2 separate regions of the Homo sapiens genome follow, and region 1 is linked to region 2. The links are contacts of gene promoters, found by promoter capture Hi-C in blood cells and fetal thymus (Javierre and others, 2016). All regions are on one chromosome and are shown on one strand. The core of a region is centred on a gene start or on the middle of the fragment in contact, and the rest is flanking DNA. Distances in the headings are between cores, read along the strand shown.

The links. Contacts are between HindIII fragments. The CHiCAGO score rates a contact against its expected background, and 5 or more counts as called.
Region 1: a fragment that was not itself captured here is called in contact with the fragment with the promoter of KIF14 in region 2 in 1 of 17 cell types (naive CD8 T cells); the score reaches 5.9 in naive CD8 T cells.

The regions. Positions count from the first base shown.
Region 1 is chr1:201,153,295-201,156,047 of GRCh38, reverse strand. TMEM9 (transmembrane protein 9) reads left to right here and starts at 1,574. Exons shown (of 5, transcript NM_001288565.2): 1 at 1,574-2,190. The coding sequence starts at 2,125. RefSeq lists a silencer at 1,498-1,777 and an enhancer at 2,188-2,337. The HindIII fragment of the contact is 3,749 bases long and covers 1-2,753 here.
Region 2 is chr1:200,619,304-200,622,005 of GRCh38, reverse strand. KIF14 (kinesin family member 14) reads left to right here and starts at 1,255. Exons shown (of 30, transcript NM_014875.3): 1 at 1,255-1,595. RefSeq lists a silencer at 1,168-1,317 and an enhancer at 1,486-1,987. The HindIII fragment of the contact is 3,652 bases long and covers 1-2,702 here.

The DNA.
Region 1 (2,753 bases), core at 11-2,510, 530 kb before region 2:
TGGAACGTATATGGGGGGAAGAAGTGTCTTTTTCCAGTACTTGAACTATCCCTTCTGCCCCCACGAGGTAGGCATTCTGTCTCTGCCTGAGCTTGCTCACCAAAGCAGCCATTCTGACCTCCACAATGAGCTAACATTGCCATTTATAGAGCCTCCCTCTTTGTGTCAGATGCTGTTCTAGGTGCTTTGCATATGTAAACTCATTATATCCCTACAACCACCTTGAAAATTTGGTAATATTAATCCCATTTTATGGGCATGGAAACCGAGACTTCTGAAAGGATTCCAAAGACTTCCAAAGATCCAAAGGCGGTGTCCTAAAGGAAACCACCCAAATTCACACAACTAGGAAGGGAGGAACCAGGATTCCTGCCCTGGTCACTCTAGCTCCAAAGCCCCTGACCTTTGCATCACACTGCAGGCCTCCTGCCCCTGCCCCCTGCCAACTAGATTTAATTTAATTCTATAGAATTCAGTTTAGCAAACACTTCCTGAGCACCTACCAAACACAGGTCACTCTGCCAGGTGGCAAGGATATAAAGAGGAATAAGACATAAGCATAGGAGAGAGGAACACAAACTCAGTGGCCTCCAGATAAGTGCCCACCTCAGTTCACAGGGCCTGCGAGGGGCTTGATTCCACCTGGACCCAGCCCCTATGCTAATCCAGCCACCAACCTCAAGTTTGGGCCATATTGATACCCCTCCCACCCACCCCTAAGGAATCCCAACATATCAAAGCTGAAGGGGATCTTAGAATCCAACCGAATCATTTTACAGATAAGGGAAGTAAGGGAAGCTGAGGCCCAGAGAAGGGAGGTATCTTTTCCAGGCTAACACAGCTGCTTAGGGGGAGCGCCAGGGCCAAAGCCCCGGTGTCCTCACTCCGGGTCTGGTGCCCTGAATTCATATGACTCCCCTTTCCTTCACAGCTGGCAAGAAGTTCACATCTGCCACATAGCAGCCAGGGACCCTCACCCCTGCATCCTGGCCATGCACACTTTGCCCCATTTTGCCAGGCCCAGCACCAGCATGGGGTAGGGGGATCAGGCTGAGGACGCTGTTGTGCACACTCTTCACAGGCCCAGCCCACACCACCCATCGCCAACCCTAGATTTCTCCTTCTCAGAGGTGTGTGTAGGGGTAGAGACGTTGCCGCGCAGAAAGTCTTCTGCAGCAAAGACGTGGATCCCTAAATAACATTTCCAGATTTTGAATGAGGACAAAGCCCTTCAATCTCGTATCGTTTTTGTTGACGTTACTAGCTTACAGTGTATAAAGCGCTTTCTTTCTAAAACAGCAAGATGAAACAAGCTGAGTTTTATAATACAAGGAAGGGAGAAGCACCGCAGTGGGAGTTCTCAGGCCACACAAAGGCAAGACCCTTCCCCAGGAGTTTGGAAGGCTGACGTTCCCTTTTCTGGTTTGGTCGGGTTTGAGAAATGCCCGCCTCTCCCTTGCGCAAGAGTCTCCCCGCCCAGGTGAAGGCGGGTCTTGTTGCCATGGCGACAGCGCGGTCGGGTTAAGGGGCTGCTCTGGCAACCAATAGAAGCTAGGAGAGGGCGGGGACAACTGGGTCTTTTGCGGCTGCAGCGGGCTTGTAGGTTCGTGGACGCGGCATTGGGGGAGGGGACGGGGGTCGCGGGGCTATTGGGGGTCCCAGTCCGGCTTAAGACCTCTGGGCGTGGTGGGCACCGGCCTTCGCCGTCGGAGCAGGGGTCCCAGACTCGCACCCAAAAGTTCCCGTCGGGCCCGAGCGGGGAGGAGCTGCGGGGCGGGCAGAGGCGGAGATGGCGGAGGGCGGTGGGACGTGATGCGCGGGTCAGAGCCGGGCCTTGAGAAGGAACTGGAGGCCCCTGGCAGCGGTGTCCCCTCGAGGACCCCTCTGCCGGGCTCACCAGGTGGCTGGCGGAGAGCCGGAGAGTTGGGCGGGAGGGAAGCAGGGTTTGGCGACCAGGTTTAGCAGGCCTTGGAATCCTGGAGCCCAGCCCCCAACCCCATTCCCACTTGGCCGGATGGTTAAGGGCCTAGCGTGCTGGCTGCGGTGTGGCCACCTTCCCCTTCTCCGACTCCGTATCTCTTTTTCCAGGTGTCCGGCTTTGCTGGCCCAGCAAGCCTGATAAGCATGAAGCTCTTATCTTTGGTGGCTGTGGTCGGGTGTTTGCTGGTGCCCCCAGCTGAAGCCAACAAGGTGAGGGAGGTGAGCCTGCAGCACCTGGTCACGACCACAGTGCACGGCCACCCTGTCTACAGGGCTGACTCAGAGGTAGCCAGCTGCTCCTTAAGCCTGCCTCTCACTCACCTATGGGCCATACTTCTTTTAGTGGTCTTCCTTCAGGTTCAAGGCTGCTGGCCTCCCTAAGGATAGTGCGGGTGAGGAGTGAGGAAGGGTGGGGCACAGAGCACTGGCTCACTCTGATCAGACAGATCAGTGGTGGACTTCCAGCAAGGAAGTTTGGAGAAGTTATCTAAGTTCTCCATACCTTCCTTTGCTTTGGACCAAAGTATGTTTTGTTTCAGATATTTTTGGATTTGGGAGTATTTGCACATAAAAAATGAGCTATCTTGGGGAGGGGACCTAAGTCTAAACCTGAAGTTCGTTTATGTTTCATATATGCTGTATATACATAGCCCGAAGGTAATTTTATACAATATTTTCAATAATTGTGTGCATGAAACAAAGTTTATCTACACTGAACCATCAGAAAGCAAAGGCGTCACTATCTCAGGCACCCATGTGGATAGTCTGGTTGG
Region 2 (2,702 bases), core at 6-2,505:
TGACTGCAAGTGATCCGCCTGCCTTGGTCTCCCAAAGTGCTAAGATTACAGGCGTGAGCCACCGCACCTGGCCCTGATAAATATTATATTCTATTTTCTGATAGTTTCCTTATACCTTAATTTTAATTGAGTTTTAGAATGATTTTTAGAGTAAGATTTAGAATGAGTACTTTATCATCTGTTTGGTTGGTCTATATAATTGGAGCTACTTATGGTCTCTATCTCAGTGAATACTTCTTCAATATCTCTGTACTTTTTGCCTGTTTAAAAAACATTGTTGCTTTACAATATCTATTTATCTAGTCTTTCTCATTTATTTGGTTATTTTTCAGAATGTATTTGTAATATTTTTTCAGATTTCAAAATCTTATGGGGGCTGGGCGGCGCAGTGGCTCACGCCTGGCAGCTTACAAGGTCAGGAATTCGAGACCAGCCTGGCCAATATGGTGAAACCCCGTCTCTACTAAAAATACAAAAATTAGCTGGGCGTGGTGGTGCGCGCCTGTAATCCCAGCTACTCCAGAGGCTGAGGCAGGAGAATCGCTTGAACCAGGGAGGCGGAGGTTGCAGGGGCCACTGCACTCCAGCCTGGGCTGCAGAGCGAGACTCCGTCTCAAAAAAGAAAAAAAAAATTAAAAAAAGGGAACTTTTACTGAAACGGAGTTACATTGTACGGCGGCAAGAACCTTCAAGTTCTAGTTATGCCACTGCTAATTGTCTGATCTTTCACAAGTTTAACTCTAAACCTCAGTTCCTCATCTGTAAACGAGGGATAACATTAATATTTATCTCACAAGATTTTCAGGACTGTTTAAAAATTCATATAAGACATTTAGCATATTTCCTACGTGAACGCCTTGCATAGGAAACACTAGAAAAGTTAATTATTATGATTAACTTGGGGGCAAATATCCATTTACAATGTGAAGTCTTCGATGTAATGGCTTCTTTTAGATTAAAGACCGACAAGAGTGTCACTGTCATGCTTTTCGTTTGACACCCACTTCAACGAGGGGCCCGCTGCGCCCGCGACCGCCGCCCCTTCCTCTGGTCGGATTTAAAGGGGGCCAAGCTCCACGCTTTAGCAGAACCCGAGGAGGGGAGGGAGCGTTGCCTGGGAGATGAGGGTGGGGCGAGTCCAGCATTCAGAGACGGCTACCGGAGCCCAACCACCGGCACTTCCGGGGGGCGGGTGGAAGCAAAGGCGCGGCACCCGACGCGACGCCCAGCAGCCAATCAGAAGGCGGGGCGCCCATTCAAATTGCGGCCTTCTGGGGAGCCGGCGCTGGAGGTGGTGAGTGGCGTGGGGACTGTGTCGAGGGGGTCCCCAAGGTGCCGGACCCTGCGGAGGGGCGAAGTTTCGGCACTGGGGAGGGCGTGCGGACGCTTTCCCTACAGGCGACCACTGCTCTGCGGGCGGGTGGTCTTAGCTCCAGTCCCCCATTCAGTTCCTCAGCATTCCAGGTCGGCGGCGAAGGGGTCCCCGAACGAAGGGCGCAAGGCAGCGTCTCTGCTGGGACCGGGAAGCCGGACTTCAGGGCCTCTCGGCCCGTGGGCTTCTCCCCGAGTCTCCCCGAGTCGGTTGGCATTAAGAGGTAATTCTTAGTCATAGCCCCTGGTAATGACTAGCAGAGAAAGAACAGAATCACCGGATGTTTTGGTTTGGATTGTGCTTATTTTCCTTGTATTCCTTCCAGTCCTCTTTAAAATCTGATGGCGAAACTCCTCAAACAGAAACCGTATTGATTTGTGCAAATCGCAAATGGTTTTTAGTTGCAAGAGAATTTCCAGAATCTTCTTTTTGCCTTTAAATTCATTTCATAACAGGAAAATTCTGTATTTTGAGTTGAAACGTTGATGGGAGATGCTTATAAGCTGACGAATTTTTTTTGTAATGACTGTTATTTATGTAAAAATTTAAAAGCCTCATTTAAAAATGAACTTCCATTAATTTGTTCCTCGCTAGCAATAATCTTTGCAATAGTTTGAACCAGTGTCATTTTACAGGTTAGAACCCGGCATGCAAATTTAAAGTCTTGTTTACATCCTTGTAAGGAGTTGGATACAAAGCTGACTAAAAGCCAGGTCTCTTAGCTGTCACTGCTGTTCCCTTTCTTTAAAACGTTAATACCTGATAGATATTGTTGCTGTATATTTACATACACCTCTGTCTAATTTGTTGTCTTACTGCTAAAGGGCAGGTTGTCTGTTTATCTAATCTTGCATGGTTTTTCTCAACACAATTAATTTACAGTACTTATCGTACTTACTGCCTGTGGTACTTGGGAATAATCTGCCTCGTGACACCAATCAATTCAATCTTCTCTATAGGCATTCCTGTATTCAACATACATGGGCCGGACGCGGTGGCTCACGCCTGTAATCCCAGCACTTTGGGAGGCCGAGGCGGGCGGATCACAAGGTCAAGATATCGAGACCATCCTGGCCAACATGGTGAAACCCCGTCTCTACTAAAAATACAAAAATTAGCTGGGCATGGTGGTGGGCGCCTGTAGTCCCAGCTACTTGGGAGGCTAAGGCAGGAGATTTGCTTGAATACAGGAGGAGGAGGTTGCAGCAAGCCAAGGTCGTGCCACTGCACTCCAGCCTGGTGACAGAGCAAGACTCCATCTCAAAAAAAATATTTTTATAAAAATAAAATAAAATAAACCTTCTTATGGAACATTGGCAAAAAAAAAAAA